5 separate regions of the Homo sapiens genome follow, and all the other regions are linked to region 3. Evidence: promoter capture Hi-C in human tissues and cell types (Jung and others, 2019). All regions are on one chromosome and are shown on one strand. Each heading gives the region's core, a stretch centred on a gene start or on the middle of the fragment in contact. The rest is flanking DNA. Distances are from core to core; before and after follow the strand shown. Region 1 has its middle 9.1 kb from the start of SHC4. Region 2 holds the start of COPS2 (COP9 signalosome subunit 2). Region 3 holds the start of FBN1 (fibrillin 1). Region 4 has its middle 49 kb from the start of DUT-AS1. Region 5 has its middle 11 kb from the start of SECISBP2L.

Region 1 (4,358 bases), core at 816-3,315, 330 kb before region 3:
GGGATTATTTCAGCACTATTTATCATGACAGAAGTCCTGGGCTCTCCCAGCCCACATACAAACACTACTGTGTTGCCCCTTCTGGCCATTTCCAGCTCCACCAGCCCCATACAGGTTCTCAAATTTGCGCTAGATCCTCCCTTCTCTTATCCCTGCTTTCCTGCAGCAAACTGCATTCCTCCCTCTCATCACTTACTCAAGCCAGAGAGGTTCCTTAGTCTCTATAGAGAATCCTACCATGCTATTCACTTTTCCCACTAAAAGCAAAAGTCTTGTAAGATAAAATTCCTCTTCTTAAAAAGAAGTCTGGGGCTTAACCCAGAGGCAGACCCTGACCTGTCTCTCTGTGAGAGGCCTGTCCCAGTTAGTCTCCTGGGAAAAAGCATTTTTTTTTAGTGTGCGTTCTTTAGGCATCTTTAGGACCAGCTGGACGATATTTTCATCACTACACAAGCAACGGCACTTTGGGAGACTACAGTAATAATAGCTTACTTTGTACACGTATTTTTAGTTCACAAAGTAAATCCACAGACTCCCTTACAGTGATTCCCAGAGCATATCCAAAATCATTTGGAGATAGAAATAGGGCTGCTAACTTATGTTTTGCCAGGTAGAGCCATTTAAAAAGCTGCCTAGTATCCATGTTTGCCATTACTTCCTAACGGAAAAGACATTTTACCACACACAGAAAATAGGAAGGACAATCTCAAATTTTTTTTTTTTAAAGCACTGTTTAAATAGAACTTCACTATAAGGTCCTCCTTTTCCCCCATGTATTTTAAGATTATTACTATTTCTATATAAACTGGAGAAAACATTTTTACAGATAATCAGTGGTTTGGGAACAGTGCTCCATTGTTTTTGATACTTAGAGTTACCCACTTGCAGGTGAGGAAGCCAAGGTTTAGAGACTATCAGCTGATGGAATGGTTAGAATCAAATTCAAGTCTGTCTGCTCCCAGTGGCTTTTTCTTATTGCAGATTGCCTCTGTCTAACCACCTTGCCAGTGTGATTCTACCCAGAGAAAACCTAACTGAAAAGCAAATGAAAGTCTTGGCTACACTTGGATCACCAGACTACACCCAGTTGGTCAAATTTTATTTTTGATTGAAAAATAACTGAGCTCGTCGGATGGAATTAGCCTTTCAGGAAAGTTCCTCTCTAATTTCATTATTTGCTTTATCAACAAAGCCATTCATATAGGTGGTTTCTAGGGGAGAATTATATATTAGAATGCTAATATATCTACTCGTATGTATCTATCCATATACATCTATTGACTGGTGCCTGAAATTCCCTCATTTTGGTGTCCTTTAGTGATAGGTTTCTAAACATCACTAAAAAGAATAAGGCAAAAAGGTAGACAGCATGTCCTTTCAGTGTAATACTGAAGCATTGTTTAACAAGCTTAGTCAATAATTTTTTTTAACTTTTATATTCGGGGGTACAGGTGCAGGCTTGTTATAAGGGTATATTGCATGATGTTAAGGTTTGGGGTACTAATGATCCCATCACCTAGGTACTGAGCATAGTACCCCATAGTTTTTTTATTTTTATTTTTATTTTTGCAGAGCTAGCTGAGGTTTTATTTTGGGAAAAAAAATGGAATTGTTTTGTAATTGGAGGCATGGGCAAGGCAGGTCCCCCAGGCAGTAAACTTCCCCGCAGGTGGGCTGAGGGCCAGGGCTGAGCCTCAGGTGGGCCTCCTGTTCCCTGTGCTCCCCTGCACAGCGGCCTCCCTCTCAGGCCCTGAGGCAGCAGCAGGAGGGATAGGTTGGGCGGGGCTGCCGTGGCCATTCACTTGGGCAGAACATCAGAGGACTCGGACACCAGCTTCCCATCGCGGGTCTTGATCGTCTTCGCAACCACGGCCCTGATGGAGCCGGTGCGGCTGAAAGAGCTGGAGGCCCGGCCAGAGCCAAAGCTGGAGTCCCAGGCCTTAGCTGAGGTCAAGGCTTGTGACGCTCCGGTAGGCCGAGCTCAGCGCACCTGCATAGCCACTGGTGGTCTTCCTGTGGATACTCATATTCTGCATCCCAGATTCCAGCCGGCTCTCCTAGCCCTCCAGCAGCTTCGTGTAGGTGGCGATCTCGATGTCCAGGACCAGCTTGCCGTTCATCAGCTCCTGGTACTCAGGCAGCTGCCGTGCCATGTGCCATGTCCTGCTTGGCCCGCTGCTGGGCGGCCTCCAGCTCGGACAGCTTAGTCTTGGCGTCCTTAATGGCCAGCTCCCCCCGCTGCTCAGCATCTGCGATGACGGACTCCAGGGAAGCTCTCTGCTCTGGCCTTTGAGGCAGGCCCTCAATCTCAGCCTGGAGCCGGCTGATGTTCCGGTTCATCTCAGAAATCTTCGTCTTTGTAAGACGCCGGTCATCCCAGTGCTTCCCAGCCAGTGTCTGCAGCTCCTCATACTTGATCTGCTACATAATCTCAGCCTCGGGCCGGCTGCAGTTGGCGATTTCCTAGTACTGCGCCTTGACCTCCGCGATGATGCTGTCCATGTCCAGGGAGCGGCTGTTGTCCATGGACAGCACCACAGATGTGTCCAAGATCTGGGACTGCAGCTCTGGGATCTCCTCTTCATACAGCTGCCTGAGGAAGTTGATCTCGTCAGTCAGCCCCTCCAGGCGAAACTCTAGCTCTACCTTGTTCATGTAAGCGTCATCCACATCCTTCTTGATGAGGACAAATTCATTCTCCATCTCTGTAGGCTTATTGATCTCGTCCTCGTACTTTTTCTTGAAGTCCTCCTTCACGAAAAACATGCAGAGCCCCTGCATGTTGCCAAGCTCTGCCTCCAGTTTCAGCTTCTCCTGGCCCAGGATCTCTAGCTGCCCCAGAAGGTTGTTGATGTAGCTCTCGAACATGTTGTCCATGTTGCTCTGAGCCGGCTTCTGCTGCTGCAGGAGGCTCCAGTTGGTCTCCAGCATCTTGTTCTGCTGTTCCAGGAACAGTACCTTGTCAACGAAGGAGGCAGACTTGTTGAGGGTCTTGACCTGCTCTTTCTCCTGGGTGTGCATGCCCTGCATGTTGGGGTCCACTTCCAGGTTAAGGGGGCTCAGCACGTTCTGGTTGACTGTGACGGCTGTGATGCCTCCCATACGCTGGCCCCGCATAGCCTCCACACAGACCCATGCTGGTGCCCAGGACATCTCGGAAGCTGCTGCTGCCCACTGGGGAGAAGCTCAACAAGCTTAGTCAATAATTTTTTTTAACTTTTATATTCAGGGGGTACATGTGCAGGGTTGTTATAAGGGTATATTGCATGATGCTAAGGTTTGGGGTACTAATGATCCCATTAGGAGGCCCGGGGGCCAGAATTGAACACCTTGTAGGACTTCTGGGTCACCCTGATGGACATGGTGGAGGCAGGAGTGGAGGCAGGCAGGCTGAACCAGGCAGAGATTCGAGAAGGAACGGAGAAGCTACTTCTAGGTCCCGTAGTTAGTTTTTCAACCCTTGCCTCACTCCTGGCTTCTCCCCCAATGGTCTCCAGTATCTATTTTTGCCATATTTATGTCCGTGAGCACCCAATGTTTAGCTACCACTTATAAGTGAGAACATGCAGTATTTGGTTTTCTGTTCCTGCGTCAATTCACTTAGGAAAATGACCTCCAGTTTCACCTATGTCAACGCAAGGGACATGATTTTGTCTTTTTTGATGGCAGCATTATATTCCATGGTGTATTTGTATGACATTTTCTTTAATCTGCCATTGATCTGCACCTAGGTAGATTTAATGTCTTTGCTATGGACAAGTGGGACCTAGTTAAAGAAAACTAGGTTTGCTATGGTGAATAGTGCTGCAATGAAGACATGAGTGCATGTGTCTTTTTGGTAGAATGTTTTATTTTCTTTTGGATACATACCCAGTAAATGAGATTGCTGGATCAAATGGTAGTTCTGTTTAAAGTTCTTTGAGAAATCTCCAAACTGCTTTCCACAGTGGTTGAACTAATTTACATTCCCACCAACAGTATATAAGCATTCCCTTTTCTCTGCAGTCGTGCCAACATCTGCTGTTTTTTGACTTTTTAATAATAGCCATTCTGACTGGTATGAGTGGTATCTCATTGTGGTTTTGATTTGCATTTCTCTGATGATTAGTGATATTGAGCATCCTTTCATGTTTTTTGGCTGCTTGTATGTCTTCTTCTGAGAAATGTCTGTTAATATCTTTGCCCACTTTTTAATAGAGTTGTATGGATTTTTTTTTGCTTGTTCAATTGCTTAAGTTATAGATTCTGCATATTAGTCTTCTGTCAGATGCAGAGTTTTCAAATATCTTCTCCCATTCTGTAGGTTGTCTGTTTACTCTGTTGATAGTTTGTTTTGCTGTGCAGAAGCTCTTTAACTA
Region 2 (4,410 bases), core at 377-2,876, 510 kb before region 3:
TAAACACCTAAATTGGATAGGAAAACTTAAATGAGGGATTCAGGACACTTCCCAAGGGGTCATATGACCAATTTAAAAGTTGGTATGATGTGTCTAAAATAACAAATTAACTCTTTTACTTATAATAAAGGTACAGATGTGCTGATTAGTCATGCTAACATGTACATATGAAATATGCCTAAACCAAATTAAAAGAAAACAAAATACAGTCTATGGCAATCTTGAAAATTCAGGGAGCTCAATAAATATTAAGAGGATGCTCTCACAATGAGAGCATTAAACACTTGGTAATTAACATAATTTAATATGCAAAAATAAGAAAATATACAGGATGAGGGATGAGGAGTACACATAGGAAATTTTTGTGATTTTCTTCATTTTGATTGTATTGCTTTCTTGTCTTCAGGAGGGAAGATTTTGACTTCAAAAGTAACAAAATATTTAAGAAGGGAATTCACATCTTTCTGTTCTAAATGATATTCTTGCGCTATTTTCTCAGCAGTTCATGTTTCTGGATAAAGTTTATGATTATTGAAAAGTGTCAATGCTTCTACAGTGGAAATTTTGCCTTTGGGAATGCTCTTAATATTTATCATATCAAAGTGATGGCCTTTCGGCAATCTGAATTTCTTTGGCTCCTGACGTGTTTCAGCAGCTTTCAGCTGCACGGAAGACACAGGATCTTTGGAATCAACACACACATATTTTAGAAATGACAGCAGCTTGTCATCTTTACGAGCAATCTCTCCCTTAATTTCTGGATAGAGACTAATCTGCTCTGGCAGGAGGCTGCTGGTAGAGGGGTGCCTGGGAGCGAGAGAGGGCTTCATGTTGCGGATTTCCCTTTCCGCTCGGTTCTCTTGAAATTCCTGATCCCGCGAGTCACCGCAGCCCCCATCTCCTTACAACATGATGCCCTCAGGTTCACAGTAATGTATTTTTTAAAAACCAGTCGTTGTTACCTTAATTTGGTCCCAAGGGCTGTAAAGGTCAGTTTACAACTCGTTGAACAACTGAGTAAGATTTAAGGCAACTCAACTGATAGCTGCATACCTAATTTAGGATATCCATAGAATTGTTTTGTCAACTACAAATATAACAAGCATTAAGTGTAAACTGTGTTGCTGAAAAGTACTCCAAGTATCTTAGGAACACCCACCGCAATGTGTGGGCTAAATGCACACGTACAATGATAGCAGAAATAATACCTGTCATATAGGACGGGCATGTCAGCCTTTTCTCCGCGAAAGGCTTCTGGTCCTAAGCTGTCCCTTACTTTCACCGGAATGAGATGCGTCCAGAGTCCCAAGCAAGGGAGGAGACTGCTCCTTTACCCAGGAGGCTGGAAACTGCTCGATGCGAGCGCAGTTTCCGACGCCCTTCGGCTGAGACCTGCAGCACCGGACGATGTCCCAGTTGCCAGCTTTAGTTGCTAAGGCACCAACCACTTCGGAGGAAACGGGGGGTGGTGCAGTCTCTTTTGGAGTCGTAGCGAATCAGCTACAAGTCGAGATAATTAGTTCCGGCAGGAAACAGCTCCTCTAAGAGGGACTGGAAGGCGGAAAGAAGCTGAGAGTGACGCCTCTGAGCCGCGGAGGATTGTGGGAGGAGGTTGTCTCCAATTTCTCCTCCCCCTCCCGGCCAAGATGTCTGACATGGAGGATGATTTCATGTGCGATGATGAGGAGGACTACGACCTGGTGAGGCGCAGGGAATGGAACTCTGAGGGTGGTGATGTGTCTTGTTTTCGGGGTCCGGGCCGGGGCGCCCGCGGCCTCTCCCCGTAGAGCATGTGCCGTTTACAGCCTCTCTCAGTGCGGTGACAGGACTGGTTTACCTCCTCCCCGTTCCCGCACCGGGCCCGGGCCCTGCTTCTCCAGCATGGGGGAAGGGAGGGCAAAGGAGGCAGCGAAGGGGGCCCCGGGCCTTGCCCTCCGAGTCTGAGCGCCTCTTCGGTTTACACGGATGCCCCTGGTCCCAGGCGTTCGGTTCTCTGTCTTCTGCCTCCCCACCGCGCTAGCCGCCTCGGTGACCATGCTGCGGTGTAGGCCCTGGCTTTGCCCTTTCGGGCCCAGCGTTCCGGGCCCCCACTTCTTCACACTGGAACTGAGCGGGTGCGAAATGCTAGGAGAAGTCAGAAAACGGGGGTGTCCTTACTGCTCCCAGGCCTGACTGCGAAACGCAACTTGTGAGTCTCCTGGAGACATAGCTTAAATAGTCTTGCCAGGGCCAGTTTTGGTCCGAGGTAAGTGTGTAGGGGAGAGTTCAGAGCAAAGATAACTGAAAAAAAGGTAGTCGAACCACTTTTTCAGTTCTTTATAAAGAAAAGCTGGGGAGGAGGTTTTGCTTGTGGTGTTTTTGGAGGACGGGTGAAAGATAATTGAACCCATGGCTTTTCCCTTAGAAATTTCCCAGTATACAAAGTTTAAAACAGCAACAGCATAGAAATAAACGAATTTTTCTGACCGAATGGAGATTTTTAAAGATTCAAAGCTTCATTTATTAATGGATTTGCAAGTTTGAATAACGTTTGCTATTCAAAAACATCGTGTGGAAACTCAGAAAATTATCTTGATCCAGAATTAACGTCAATTTTGCTGTGTTTCTTTATTTTGGGGGTGTTTCATATGGTTCTTTTATGGTGATGCTGCATTATCATAAAGTTACGAAATAGATGTTTTGGGACGTCTGACTCATTTTAAGTGCCAGAGATTGTCAAAATATTAATACATTGTTTTGAATTAGTCTATAACTTTTTCGTATATATTTTCAGTTTTTTGCATTTTAAAATAAGGCACACTTTGCAAAAGGGAGAAAGGAAATTCTCGCTATTATTTGAAAGTCATAGTAGAGATTTTTATAATTTTTAAAGTTAAATGTAGTTTCGCTAATAGTTATGGTTTCTACCTTACATTTTAGTTTGTGCAAGCCAGTTGTAGGCAGTGACTTCAGTTCATTAAGAATATGTATCTGTCCATTTTTACTTATTACCTGTTTATTTATATTACAGGTGTTTTGTTATCAAAATGTTTCTTTTATATGTGCTTGTATTTTTTTAATTGATTCATAGTATTTTGTACATATTTATGGGGGGTTTCGTTACATGCACAGGATATGTAGTGATCAAGTCGGTATTTAGGATATCCATCACCTTGTGTTTTTATCATTTCTGTGTCTAGGGAATATTTAAAGTCATCTCTTCTAGATATTTTGAAATATAAAATACGTTTTAACCATAGTCACCCTGCTCCGCTGTCAAACATTAGAACTTACTCCTTCTATCTAACTGTTGGTTTGTACATACCATTAACCAACTTCTCTTACTTCCCCACTCCTCTTCCCCCCACAACACCCTTCCTATCATTCTACTCTCTACCACCGTGAAATCAACTTCTTTTGCTCCCAGATCTGAGTGAGAACATGTGATATTTGTCTTTCTGTGCCTGGCTTATTTCACTTAACCTAATTCTCCAGATCCATGTTGCTGCAAACTGACAGAATTTCATTCTTTTTTATAGTCAAATAATATTCCATTATGTATATATACCACATTTTCTTCATCCGTTTATCCATTGATGGACACTTAGGTTGATTCCCTGTCTTTGCTGTTATGAATAATGCTGCAATGAACATGGAGTGCAGGTATTCCTTTAATAGACCGATTTTCTTTCCTTTGGATAAACCCAGGAGTGGATTGCAAGATCTTATGGTAGTTCTACTTCTAGTTTTTGAGAAATCTCCATAATGGCTATACTAATTTACATCTCCATCAAAAGTGTAGAAGAGTTCTGTTTTCTCCACTTTCTTGCCAGCATTCTATTATTTTTTGTCTTTTTGATTAATAACCATTCTAATTGTGGTTTTGATTTGCATTTCTTGGTAGTGATATTGACCTTTTTTTTTTTCATGTATGTGTTGGCCATTTGTATGTCTTCTTTATTTATTTACACATGTATATATTTTTAGAGATGGGATTTTGCTGTGTTACTCAGGCTGGGCCCAAACTCCTGGGCCCAACCAATCATCCCGCCTCAGCCTCTTAAGTAGCTGAGACTACTGGCACGTGCCACCATGCCCAGCTGTATGTCATCTCTTGAGAAATTGCATTTGTATTATTAGTTTGTGTTTGTAAGTGTTTCTGCTTACCTCTTTCCTAAGCAATAGTCTGTTGGATACATAACTTATTAGCACTGTGATCAAGCTGATGATCATCTTTGAGAATGTAATGTAGCAATAGCAGTGAGAATCTTTTTGTCCCATGAAGTACTTGATTAACTTTTGCAAGATTTTTTATTAAACATACAGTGTTTTAACTTGGTCATATTTTCCCAGCCTTTTAGGGCCTACGCTACATGAGCAGTAAAATGAAGTTGAATATATAATTGCTTTAACTTTTTTTTTTGAAACAGA
Region 3 (4,670 bases), core at 253-2,752:
GTGCTCAGTAAAAACATCTTGAATGAATGATCTCCTTTACTCAGCCAGGAGTGTGTGACCAAGGCTCTCATTCATGAATCTGCTAAGAGACCTTTTGCAGGTGAGACCTTAAAGTACACCACATACATACTTACAGGACTATGGCTTTAGATCAGCTCATAGTTCCCACAGTTTTTCTGTTTCATCTTCATGTATCACAGCAGTTCAGCATGTCCATCATCACCATTACAACCCTGTGTGGTGGACACTACAAGTCCCATCTTGTATTTGGAAAGAAGTTGAATAACTTGCCCAGGTCTCTCTACCCTACTGTCTGGGCCCCTTTACAAACGGTTACAAATAAGGAAAATCCCTTTCAACAAGATACATTCCCAGGGTACCTGTTTGTGCTGAGCTTTTATTATTGGCTTGACAGCAGGCTGGTGGCTGCTTGCAGGGGATCTTCTGGGGGTCTCCAGTTACAGCAGCCAGGACCCAGTGTGCGACTTCAGGCCTTCCTAAACTGTTACAGGGTGCAGGCATCATTGGGCATTATCCATATAAGGATGCCACAAATACTATACCTTTCAAAGCCACTAAATTCACTGTGCCGCGCATATCCTGGGGAGAGGCAGCTGTGTGTGGGGGAGGGCGAGGGGACCGGGAGGGTGTAAGTAGAGTCCTCCAGATGAACCCCAGTCTTAATCTGGGCTGGGCAAGAGGACCATCCCTTCACCGCTCCCATCCTACATCCTAGGTTCCAACATTTACAGGCCCCTGGGTTGGACACCGACTTAGAGAGAGCACCCTGGATTCAGGCCTGGGTGGCTTGAATTGAGCCTCAGAAGAGCCGCGTCTGGAGTGGGCTCTCGACACCCAGGGCAAGTGGGGGCGGCAGAGCCCTCTCCTCGGTCGGCACAGCAGCCTCTGCCGCGGTCCCGGCCTGCGACGCGCCCAGTCTTAGCCTCCCGGCCTCCGGCGTCTGCTGAGTGTCCGGCGGGAGAGGCGCAGGGAGCGCGCTACCGGGAGGCGCGGGCAGCGGGGACTGGTTTTCTCTCGGGCCAGGGCCTCCGGGGCAACCGTCTCCAGCGCGCATTCTTGGTGCAGGTGGAACAGCTTTCTGCTCCGGTAGGGCTTCACCTATCGCGGGAGAGGTTAATCTCGGATCTAAACCTCGCAGCCGCAGAGCGGGCTAAAACCGCTACTCCACCTCTTCCCATTTCTCCCCTCCCCACCTCAAGACAAAAAGTCCCAGGCCGGGCAGGACCTGATCACCTCTGCCTCCTCCCACTGCGCTAATCCTGCGAGCGAGAGGCCCCGCACCGAGGCGGAGGCTGGCAAAGGGGAGTGGAAAGGGAGGATGGATGGGGCCGGGGGGTGGGGTGGTGATGAGGGCGACGAAGGAGGGGGTGTCATTTTCTTTTTCTTTCTTTTTTTAAAAAAAGTATTTCTCTCGCGAGAAACCGCTGCGCGGACGATACTTGAAGAGGTGGGGAAAGGAGGGGGCTGCGGGAGCCGCGGCAGAGACTGTGGGTGCCACAAGCGGACAGGAGCCACAGCTGGGACAGCTGCGAGCGGAGCCGAGCAGTGGCTGTAGCGGCCACGACTGGGAGCAGCCGCCGCCGCCTCCTCGGGAGTCGGAGCCGCCGCTTCTCCAGTGGGTGCAGCCGGGGTCCCGACGGGGGTCGGGCGGCCACCGGGGCTGGAGCTGCGGCCACGGAGGCTTTTGCGTTTGCGCCGCGCCGAGGGCAGGGACAGGGACTGGGGTGAGGGGCTGTCCCGGAACGTCCACAGCTGGCGCTGGCCCTCCCCTGCCTGACAGCTTCCTGGCCCGGGGCTCTTGGTGCCGGGCTCCGCGTCAGATGTTCGGGGGGCGGTGGCATCGCCCGGAGTCGGCGGGGACGGCGCGGCTGGCTTCCAGCCTGGCGGAGAGGGCAGGCTGAGGAGTGGGGCGTTCAGAGCGCGCATCGCGCGCAATTCGTGCCGCTAAAAAAAATAAACCCAGAGAGCTCGCCCGGGGCTTAGGACCGCTGGGGATATGGGTACTTTGCGCCGCGCTCTTCTGGCGGGGCCCGGGAGGCCGAGGGATCGGCCGGGGCTGCTGCCGCCGGGGGCCTGGGCTTTCCAGCCAGCTGTGGACCAAACGGTCTTCCCTTACCCAAATTAACTGCGCCACGCGCAGGCGGCGCACGGGTTGGGCTTGGGAATGGGGACCGCGAGGCTTCAGCATCCCGATGCCCTGAAAGTCTCCCCGCCTCGGGGATTTGTCTCTGTGTTGCAGCTGGCAGGGGCCGCCTGAAGTGGGAGCAGCGCCTGGAGAAGGCGGGAGGAGCCCGGCCCGGGGGACGGGCGGCGGGATAGCGGGACCCCGGCGGCGCGGTGCGCTTCAGGGCGCAGCGGCGGCCGCAGACCGAGCCCCGGGCGCGGCAAGAGGCGGCGGGAGCCGGTGGCGGCTCGGCATCATGCGTCGAGGGCGTCTGCTGGAGATCGCCCTGGGATTTACCGTGCTTTTAGCGTCCTACACGAGCCATGGGGCGGACGCCAATTTGGAGGCTGGGAACGTGAAGGAAACCAGAGCCAGTCGGGCCAAGAGAAGAGGCGGTGGAGGACACGACGCGCTTAAAGGGTAAAGGAACCGGTTCCCTCCTTTGGTGTGGGTCTCCCAAGTTTCAAGATCCAGAACAACGGGCAGGATGACTCTCCCTGTGGAAGACTCCTTGGCAAGACCTCCTGGGGGCACCTTAGAGGTGCTAGGGTTGTTTAGTCCCCACCCCGTTCGTGGTTAAACTACCTTGCCCCTACTCCCAGAGATTTCTGCCCCAAAGGAGAGGACGTGGTTAAATGGAATCTTGGGCCATTGTTGAGGCAGATTTTGGGAGGCGAGAAGAGTTCCTTGGGGAAGAAGGGGAGGAGTTGCGAGTGGGATAAGAGGAGAAGCCCGTTCCTTTCCCTGCAATATCAATTCTGGTTGTTTCTAGAGGAAAGTACTTTCCTTGGGGTCATCTTGGTAGATGCTGTATTTGAAAGGGGGCAAGGAAAGGAAGGGATTCCCATGACAGTCAGAGGAGAAATCACACAGTAGTTGACTCTTCCGTAAATTATGCTTATTAAAATTACGGATTGGGTTTTCTGGGCAATGCTTCCTTTAGATGTCTACATTGGAAGCAGAACAGGGCAAGTGGTTCTGAGAACTGGTTTTTTGAGTTGTGTGGGGCTCTCCGTTTCACTGCAGCAGTAAGGCTGCTGTGGCCGGCCTTAAGGGAGTATTTTTAACTAGTGGTGTTTGTGTTGTGTACATGCAACTGACCATTTCACTGGCTTCCCATGCCGCTGTTACAGATGTTTCAGCCGGAAAAATTTTAATTAGACTTGACTAAGGGTTGTCATTTTCCTGTATTGAAGGACAGTGGGAATACATTTCCTTTAAGAGAAATTTGTCTGCAGTTGTTTAAGTTAAAGCCTCCATGGAAACAACAGGATGGACTGTCAGTGACCCCTTTTATCTTCTTGGAGGAGCCTGTTAAATAAATTCAGACAGTATATATAGGGAGATTTTGTATTAAATTCTTACCATTCTCGCTGATGCTCTTTTCCTGAGTGGTTCTGTAGCTTTATTATATAGCTCTGGGTCACCAAGTGATGGTATCCACTTGGATATGTGGCTGTTCATTTCACTTACTCTTTTTTTGTTATGAGGTGTTATAGTCATGTATATGTAGTAAAATTTGTGTTTGTATGGCCCAGATATGAGAAGAAAAAGTAAACTCACCAGACCAGTTTTTGACTCCTAGTCTGGAGTAAGGACAAGATGATTGTATGAGCCAAGCACTTAGGCTGTGATAAAATAGCACAGAAAATAGTTATGATTAATTCGGTTCCATCTTGGCCTTCGTGGAAAATAAACCCAGAATTCCGATAATGTTGGAAGGAAGTTTGCTTATCATGGTAAACCTGACCTTGATCAGACAGCAGATGTTTATTGCCCTGTGTGCAAGGCACATGGCAAGTTCAATAAGTAGACTGAGGCTCTGATTTTCATATGTTCTCAAGAGGACCTCATTTAGTCCAGTATTTTTCCTTCAAAAATACATTTCTCCTACATAATAATATCTTAATATCTATTCTGATAGGATTGCTCCTGTATATAAAGGACGTGGGGATTTAATTCTGTGGCTGAAGATCTGCAGAGAGGTGTGAGGCCTGGTCAGACATTTGTCTCATTTCTCTGGGCTGTCACCAACTAGTGTGTTCCCTTGGGAATGTGAAAAAAGAAACTAAGCTTTACTTTGTTGCTTAACAGGATGCCACACTTTTACTCACACTTGTGCTTTTTCTCTCTGGTTTTAAATTTGTTTGTGATTATAGAGAGATACCTCTCTGTGCTCCTCACAGTATTTGATCATTAACACAGACCTTATCCTATTGTAAACTATTTATAAAGCCTTCCTAAAAACAGGGTATTAATAGAATTGTAATTATGTGTGTTCCTAATTCTCATGTTAATTATAAGATTTTATAATAAGTGATATATATATATACACACACACACACACACACACATACACGGGGGTGAAAATAATAATTTAAAAATATATACAATTAAAAGTATTTCCCTGCCACCTTTCAGAGACCATTTTCTTGTGTATTTTTCTATAAATCTTTTAGGCATATGTATACATGTACAAATAAAC
Region 4 (4,312 bases), core at 41-2,540, 260 kb after region 3:
GGGATTGCTTTTGCAGTATAACGCTTTTCCAAATCAATGTCTAAGTGTTTTTTCATGCAGGGTCAGATTTACCACTCACACATTCTCCCATACCTCCTTTTTGCACTTTAGTAATTGGTTTTTGGATTTGATTTAGCAACTTATATTTGTTTTTCTCATAAAAATTAGTTTTAATCATTTCAGTTCAATGAAAAATTTGGTATTTTGATTCCATCAAACAAAAATATTCATTCTTCCCACTACCTCCATTACATTTGAAATTTTGATAAGAATAGAGATGAAACCTAGAAAAAAGAAATTTCTGATGGCACGCTTTTCTTAGCTTTCTACTCTCTATTCTCATGGTAATGTTCAACCCTAATGAAGACAGTTTCAGACTTTCTTAACTCAGGATAAACGTAAAAGGAAAAGTCACCAGGGGAAAAATAACAACCGGAAATCCTGTTTTTATTAATTAGTTGAGCTCTCAGTTCTCATAATGAAAACAAAACATAACTATGGAAAAGATATGTAATTGTCTTACTTTATTGAGCTACAAAATCATTTAATGTTAAGCATTTTGGGGAGAATCTAATGACAAATAAGATTTCATTGCTATCTCAAAGAGTCTAAAGTTAGACCTGTGAAAAGTATAGGCTGAAATCAGGTTGATTACATTAACATAAAGCTCCAACACTGTGGCTGTTACTGTTGGTTGTGCACCCAATGACCATTCCCCATTTCTTCAACCTGAATTCACCTGATGTTGTTCGGGTATCAGGAGTACATGGGCTTCAGGAAGTATTGGCCTCTTCCCCCAGACCAGTTATGAGCATTATATAGTCCTTTGTCCTTCCTTGGTTTGGAAATGGGCATGCCATACAATTCCGGCCACTGAGATGAAAGTGAAGTCTGCAATGAGGTTTCTGGGAAAGTTTTTCTCACTCTTAAAAAGAGACATAGGGAAGGAGGCTTCTGTCTTCCAGACTTAGATATACGTGTGTGAGAATGCAATATTTAGAGTCTCAGCCATAGGACCGTTAGAGGAAAAAACAAAACCTGACACAGTCAGCCTGGCAGGCCAGACAAGATGGAAAGAATTACGTTCCTTATTACATAAAGGAAGTGCTGAATTAACCCATTCAGGAACTGTTTTACCACTAGACTTCTCATATGGATCATAAATATTTTTATCATGTAAGCCATGTTGAGTTGCATAGGTCTTTTGTTACTTGCTGTCAAAAGCATCCTAATTGTTATAATCACTAAGAAATTTTTCAGCATACACATCCTTATGCTATTTTATAAAAAGTAGAACCTTAGTAGTAGTAGTAGTAGTAATGATAACACTCTTACAATTATGAGAATCTACTTTGGGTGAGGCACTATGGTAACCACTTTAGATAGATTTTTTTTTTTTAATAACCTTTAGTCTTCCAATTCAAGCATAGGGTCTGGTATCTTGTTTCTCATCTTCTCTGAGAATGGGTTTAACTATAAAGGTCTGAATTCACTTGATATAAAATTTAGTCTATGGTATTCTAAGTTCTTTGACCAACAAATATTTGTCAATATGAGGTGACCCAGAAGTTTGTGATGGCTTCAAAAAGGAAAAAAAAAAAAAGATTCGTTTACTTAATTTTGCATTTCTCTTGAAATATTGAACTAAGTGTAGAAACAATTCCCTTAGAGGAAGTTAGGAATTTGCAGAAGGGATGTTAACACTTTAGAGCTACCACAGTACCAATAACTACATTTTGGCTTTGGATTTTGGAAAAGTGCTTACCTGCCCTCTGCCTGCCCCTGGCTTCAAAAGGCTTCACCCATGCTCAGAGTTCATCTTGCTGCTTCAATTAAATGGGCAGGTGACTCTCAATTCACTTGAACTATGGACATACCCAACGGGGAAATGTTCTGCAGTGTGTTCACATATGAATTTATGTGGCCTGGGAGGGTTGTAGGGCTGTATGATGCTCCTCAATGGTTTCTGAGTGACTAAGCTAAGGCCAGCACTCAATGGCCAGCTAGAGAGTCTCACCTCATATCCTTCCAAGGTGGCCACTGGGAGTGAAAAGAGGGAAGGAATCATCACTGCTTCCTTCCTGTTTTCCCCTCCAGGCAGGCAGAGCTACAAGAGTACTATGTCAGGAAAACATTGGTAAACAGGTTGAAAATTGCTGTTCACAATTTTCCTTTCACATTTCAGCAAGGAGGCCACCTGTGAAAACAGAATGTTCTAAGTGTCATCCTCTAAGAAAAGAAAACAAAGGCTTATGGGCATTGGGGACAATGCTTCCTGCCCTGCTGTCCATTCTCAGCCTCACCAAGCCTAGTAAATAGACAAGCTTGGAAACAGTGATGTTTGTTTCCGAAGAAATGACATCAGTGCAGGGGTCAGCACCTCACCTATTTTATTGTGGGGGATATGAGGGTGAAAAATGAAAATGAATGCATAGTGTATGATGAACATTTGAAAAAGCCTGATCCCTGGTGGTTGCTGGGTTCTCCCTGTCCTGAATAGGTACAAATAAAGTGGGGCATAATTTAAGTTCATATTGTATGAATATAAGAATAAGCATGACGATATGGCAGTGTCCCCACCCAAATCTCATCTTGAATTGTAGTTCCCACAATCCCCAGGTGTCATGGAGGGACCCAGTGGGAGGTAATTGAATCATCGGGGCAGTTCCCCCATGCTATTCTGATGACAATAAGTTCTCAAAAGAGCTGATGGTTTTATAAGGGGCTTCCCACTTGGCTCAGTTCTCCTTCTTGTTCTCTCTGCTGCCGTGTGAAGAAGGACATCTTGGTTCCTCTTCTGCCATGATTGTAAGTTTCCTGAGGCCTTCCCAGCCATGTGGAACTGTGAGTCAATTAATCTTCTTTCCTTCATAAATTACCCAGTCTTGGATATGTCTTTACTAGCAGCGTGAGAACGAACAAATACACATGGTTTAAGAAAAAAAATGGAGAAGAGCTTTAAAATAATAGTCTTTCTCTATACCTTTCCCTACCACCCATGCCATACCCTGAGGCAAACACTGACATCCACAGTACTGGATAATAGGTGTAGATTTCTATTTCTTGATCTATTAGCACTTAAGGATATCAATTTACTCTTAAAATGTCAATTTAGCTCTTTACATCATCCTTCACCTTCCCTCCTCCTTATGCTTCTGATCTTTAATAGTTCTGTTACTATTTTTCAGTTTTTTCACTGACTGCCTTCGTGACTTTAAATAACACATTTATACACTATTTCATCCTCCATCAACCTTGGTCAATATCTCAACTCCTTTTTTTGTAGAGTAAATTACAAATATAGACATAGTTTTTGCATAACCATAGCAGTTAACATTTATTTATGCTTAGCTGTCAGGCATCTGTACTTTGTCTATTGATTAATTTTAGAAGGTAGAAGTGAATACAGAGCATTTGTATTTCTGTGACTGAGTAAATCTTGCTCAATGCTGACCCAAGTAGCATGTTAGAATTGCATTTTCTTCTCAAAGGTCTTCTGGGATATGTAAGGAAAATGTTTATAGCATCAAGGCCAAACAGATTCCCTTTTCTTATATATTATCAAATTGCTTAAAATCATACCCCTTTATTATTTACTCTATATTCAGACCAAGATTTTCTGTCCTGATTATTGTTTTTCCTGACACTTTTAATGTGCTTTGTGTGAAGTAGTTCACTGTGCATTGATTACCAACTTGCCTGAGTCTGGTGAGACAGAACACACTCATATGCAACAAGTTACATGAAGCAAATTTATTACTTACAGATATGTAGCAAGAGATTGCAGAATCCCAGAATTCATTGTAAGCCAGTTCCCCAGGACTCAGGAAAGCTACACAGGGCAGATGAAGTCTCAACTGTGCATGCCCTACTTGCACCACAGCTGAGACTCTAAAACTAACCCATTCTGAGTTTTATAATCTGGGGTAACAGGACCCTGTGGGATGAAGCACTGAAGGATGTTCTGTCCTGCAGGTAGCTGGACTGGGACAGAACCCAGGCTGTTCTGGCCAGTCCCTCCCTATCTCAGGATGTTGCCTTCCCAGAACATTCTACAGCTATTCTTGAAAACAAAAAGTGAGAAAGAGTTGAGAACTGGGTCTGTCCAGGGCCACCCAGAGAACTGTCCTGCACTTTGCCTTTTTTTGACAAAACAATAATGTGCTTTTATGATTTCCTCAAGTTTTCTCATCCCCTTAGTCGTGCTGTCAAATGCAAGCCTTCCTCTCCAAGCAGTGCATCCTCCCGTTTCGTGACTGACCTCTGAGACCTGCCTTTTTTGTACTTTTGGGTTGAACCTTCTGTTTCCAGA
Region 5 (4,300 bases), core at 170-2,669, 410 kb before region 3:
CAGTCAATAAACAAAACAGACATACAGCATTTTAGATGATGATAAGTGCTACGGAGAAAAAGCTGGAAAGGAGAGGCAGTGTGTGTGTTTGCATGCTGTTTTTTTTTTCTTTTTTTCTTTTTTAAAAATTTCAATAGCTTTGAGGGGTACAAGTGGTTTTTGGTTACGTGGATGAATTATACAGTGGTGAAGCCTGAGATTTTAGTGCACGCATCACCCAAGTAGTGTACATTATACCCAATATGTAGTTTTTTAAATCCCTCACCCCCTCTTCTACCTTCCTCCTTCTGAGTCTCCATAGTCCATTAGATCGCTCTGTATTGCATCCTGCTTTAAAGAAGGTGGTCAGAAAAGGCCTCACTCCAAGGTCACATTTAAGAAAAGGCCTGAAGTGAGGGCTTGAGCCATGTGGGTTAACTGGGGGTAGGGAGTTCCTGCCAGTGGAAGCAGCAAGGCCAAGGGATCTCAAGATGAGAGTGTGCTTAGAATGACAAGGGAACAGCAAGGAGTGAGCAAGTGAATAGCAAGTGAGTGAGGAATAGGAATTAAGGCCAGAGGCATGGTAGGGGCTTGATCATAGGGACTTCAATGGCCCCTCTAAGGACTTGGGCTTTTACTCTGAGATGGGAAGCTCCACTGGAGCTCCTTGGAAGAGAGGAGTGACATGATCTGACTTAAAATTTTATGGCTGACTATGGCTGATTGGGAGATTATCTGCTCCAGAGATTCTGACTTAATCGGTCTAAGAGGGGACTGAATATTCTAGCTTTAAGAGTGCCACAGATTGAGAACCACTCCTCTAGGGCTTGCAATGTGTTCTTGCATTCGTTACCTCAACTCGAACCCCTCAACAATCCCATGCATTGTGCAGATGAGGAAACTGAGGCCCAGGGAAGCTTAAGCGACTTTTGAGGGCACATGGCCTGAAATGGGTATAGATAAAATTTAAACCCAAGTTATCAAGTCTTAGTCTAGTAGTGCTCTTTCCATCATAACACTTATATTATCAATGGAATCTTTTTTCTTATGAGTTTGCCACTAGTTTTTAGGAATTTTGGTGGATTCATCTTATATGCTGAAAACATAAAGATATTATCTCTAGTAATTTTGATTCATACTATCTTTACTCAGGTTTGATTCCATGGTCTGTTCTGTCACCCTAACCACCCTCTTGCCATTAGATCATGTTACTTTCCTGCAAATAATGAGAGATACATACTCCAGTTCAGCTGTGCCCTGGCCTCAGCATTGGCCAAAATTTGCTTTTCAATTTCACCTTTAGCATTGGCCTTTGGAAGGTCATATTGTCAAATTTCTATTTCACCTTCTGGCAAGTCTAAACTGGGTATGGCCTCCCCATCATGTGATCTTACTGGGTAACCATTATATCTAATCAGCATAACTATGTAAATTATAAGAGCAAAGTATGTTAGTCAGAGTTAGTGTTAATATATGGATATGCACTTTCAAATATAGGTAAGCATTTTGGATGTATTTCCTCTGTTGAAATTCTATTAATTGTTTAATATAAACTTCAGTAATAAAGGTAATTGTGAAAATTGTTAATTTTATGCAAAAATGTAGAACTTTCAAGTAGTTAGGTAAGAAAATAATTGAAAATTAATACAATTATACAAAAGATGGGCTACATAAATTTAGAAAGAAAATTACATCCTTTTGAACCACTAATATTCATACAATGTAATTAATAATAAAAGGCATGCAGAAATAAACGCATATTAGAAATTAAAATTTTAAATGAGAATAACAATCTTAGGTGTGCATCTGAAAATATCCACAAAGCATCTTCTTCAAGCACAGCACAAACTTCAGTTTCTAGGGGGCTTCAATGAAATGGAATCATGTCCATTGACCAAATCTTCAAGTCCAGCAGCAGAAAAGCGGATAAAACTTAGTTTCTATTAGAAAGGAAGGGAAGCTTAATAACAGATGATGACATCACTATCAGAAGTATCCTATACTAGCAGAGCTAGCCAAAAATAATCTTGTTCCTCATCTGACTTTGGTTAATAGTGGACTTTAATATTTAAAATTGCAATGTGCAGTATCATGACTGTAGGAACACTAGTAATGCTAAGAAATTGTTCCTGCATTATTTAAGCTTCTGAAGTTTGACTACTGCCAAATAAGAAATGATGTTTAACCTTCTCATGTTATATTTTTAAGGATATGTTATTAATATATGTTCTAAAATTGTATGAGACTCCTAAAATTCTGATATGTCTTGGTATATGTTATCAGTCATAGTTATAGTTAGTATGTTTAATTATTGTAGGTCACAGAAATAACCAAATTTCCTTGTCAATTGTGTCTTTAACCGTGACCATTTTAAGTCTTGCTTCCAGTTAATTGCTTAATTCTGGTGCATTTTCTGAAAGCTATTTATAAGCAACTAAAATCCTAGAGTATTGTGCCTTCAAGGAGGCTCATGGAAAGGATGGAAAGGACCCTGAGAAGCACTCTTGAATACACGGTTCTGATAACTTTAGGATCATATAATTTGGACTGGGTAGGAATTCCTAGAACTCTCATGAAGAGACTGACTGATTCATAAAACTGCTAAACCAAGCAGGACAAGAATTGATTGAATATCAAGAAAAAATTTTGCCAAATGTTATGCAAAATGAGCCAGTACTGAAATTGTTAAGAAATTCAACTTAAATGAACTCCATGGCCCAAGGCAAATTACCTATGATAACAGATTTAACAAACAGTGCTGTGCAACAAAATCGCTATTTAAGAATGATAAAAATCCAATGTTAAGTGTGGACTCATGGAGAGCCTGGATGGCTGCCTGGCCCTTCCTGAGTCCTTATAGCTTCCATTATTAAAAGCTGTATACCCTATGACTTATTAGGAAAGAGGTAAAATGATTTAAATTATGTGTGTGTGTGTGTGTGTGTGTGTGTGTGTGTGTGTGGTGACTATTCTAAACTGCTAAAATGGCTTATGATCAATGTTTAGTTTGTCAAATCCATAATTAAGGGAAAATATCAAAATTTGGGGTACATTTCTGCTACATGATGAGCCTTTTGAACATTTATGAGGGCATTTCATTCACTTGCCATTCTACGCACATTTTCTGATTGTATAGAAGCTTTCCCATGCAAGAAGGCCAATGCTATAACAGTAGCTAAAAGGTTATTTTAAAATGTGTTTCCCTCATGGGGAATTCTGAAGAAATCTCCAGTGATGGAGGTACTTGTTTCACTGGACAGGTTGTAGAAAAGTTAAATAAAGTATTATAGCATTAGGCAAAGCTAAATGAATCGACTGGATTGCCTTGATCCAAAGTATTGAAGATTGATGGCAATCAGATCCACTTCCAGAGGAAAACATAAGTTGACCCCTTATGAAACAGTCACTGGAAGGCCTATCCTCCTAATAATAGAACATTATATCTCTTCCATTCCTGTACTCTGATATGACTAATTGCCGCAAGGCTTTAATGCATTATGCCAAAGTGTATTTTAGTCAGGCAAAGGAAATTTTAATGACCCATTGACTCAGGATAATTAAAACATTGATGATATAGAACCAAGATATTGGGTCTTCTGGAAGTGAAGAGAAAGACTGCCCTTGCCACACACACTGCAGCAAAACTTTGGGACCGCAAACCTTGTATCCATAGTCTCATAACTCTAAACAGCCCTTTCAGACTCAGGACTGTATACCAGGGTCCCCCTAACAGGTACTTGTCCATGGGCTGTTAGGAACCAGGCTGTACAGCAGGAGGTGAGCAGTGGGCAAGCAAGTGAAGCTTCATCTGTATTTACAGCTGCTCCCCATCTCTGGCATTACCACTTGAGCTCCACCTCCTGTCAGATCAGCAGCAGCATTAGATTCTCATAGGAGCGTGAACCCTATTGTGAACTGTGCACACAAGGGATCTAGGTTGCACGCTCCTTATGAGAATCTAATGCCTGATGATCTGTTACTGTCTCCCATCATCCCCAGATGGAACTGTCTAGTTCAATGGTCCCCAACCTTTTGGGCATCAGGGACTCGTTTCATGGAAGACAATTTTTCCATGGATGGGGAGGAGAGGAAGGGGCAGATGGTTTTGAGATGAAACTGTTCCACCTCAGATCACCAGGCATTAGATTGTCATAAGGAGCGTACAACCTAGATCCCTCCCGTGGGCAGTTCACAATAAGGTTCGCTCTGCTATGAGAATCTAATGCTGTTACTAATCTGAGCTTGCATGTCTGCTGCTCACCTCCTGCTGTGCAGCCTGGTTCCTAACAGACCACAGACTGTACCTGTCCACAGCCTGGGG

The links. Contacts are between HindIII fragments. The study calls those that stand out against the background at their distance.
Region 1: a contact is called between a fragment that was not itself captured here and the fragment with the promoter of FBN1 in region 3, in 1 of the 25 tissues and cell types used here (IMR-90 fibroblasts).
Region 2: a contact is called between the fragment with the promoter of COPS2 here and the fragment with the promoter of FBN1 in region 3, in 1 of the 25 tissues and cell types used here (hippocampus).
Region 4: a contact is called between a fragment that was not itself captured here and the fragment with the promoter of FBN1 in region 3, in 1 of the 25 tissues and cell types used here (lymphoblastoid cells).
Region 5: a fragment that was not itself captured here is called in contact with the fragment with the promoter of FBN1 in region 3 in 1 of the 25 tissues and cell types used here (aorta).

Annotation. Positions count from the first base shown.
Region 1 is chr15:48,970,805-48,975,162 of GRCh38, reverse strand. It overlaps the pseudogene KRT8P24. Among named protein-coding and RNA genes, the nearest start is that of SHC4, 9.1 kb to the right of the region's middle. The HindIII fragment of the contact is 5,600 bases long and covers 1-4,358 here.
Region 2 is chr15:49,152,815-49,157,224 of GRCh38, reverse strand. COPS2 (COP9 signalosome subunit 2) reads left to right here and starts at 1,626. Exons shown (of 13, transcript NM_004236.4): 1 at 1,626-1,700. The coding sequence starts at 1,647. It also overlaps a transcript of GALK2 not described here and the pseudogene NDUFAF4P1. RefSeq lists enhancers at 674-1,592, 1,351-1,880. The HindIII fragment of the contact is 9,462 bases long and covers 1-4,410 here.
Region 3 is chr15:48,642,541-48,647,210 of GRCh38, reverse strand. It overlaps FBN1 (fibrillin 1), which reads left to right and starts at 1,502. Exons shown (of 66, transcript NM_000138.5): 1 at 1,502-1,636; 2 at 2,261-2,605. The coding sequence starts at 2,442. FBN1-DT (FBN1 divergent transcript) reads right to left here and starts at 1,406. Exons shown (of 2, transcript NR_183872.1): 1 at 381-1,406. RefSeq lists enhancers at 1,338-1,427, 940-1,464 and silencers at 1,538-1,617, 1,658-1,837, 2,248-2,377, 2,478-2,527. The HindIII fragment of the contact is 10,434 bases long and covers 1-4,670 here.
Region 4 is chr15:48,378,797-48,383,108 of GRCh38, reverse strand. No RefSeq gene overlaps it. Among named protein-coding and RNA genes, the nearest start is that of DUT-AS1, 49 kb to the right of the region's middle. The HindIII fragment of the contact is 5,458 bases long and covers 1-4,019 here.
Region 5 is chr15:49,054,953-49,059,252 of GRCh38, reverse strand. No RefSeq gene overlaps it. Among named protein-coding and RNA genes, the nearest start is that of SECISBP2L, 11 kb to the right of the region's middle. The HindIII fragment of the contact is 4,062 bases long and covers 1-3,450 here.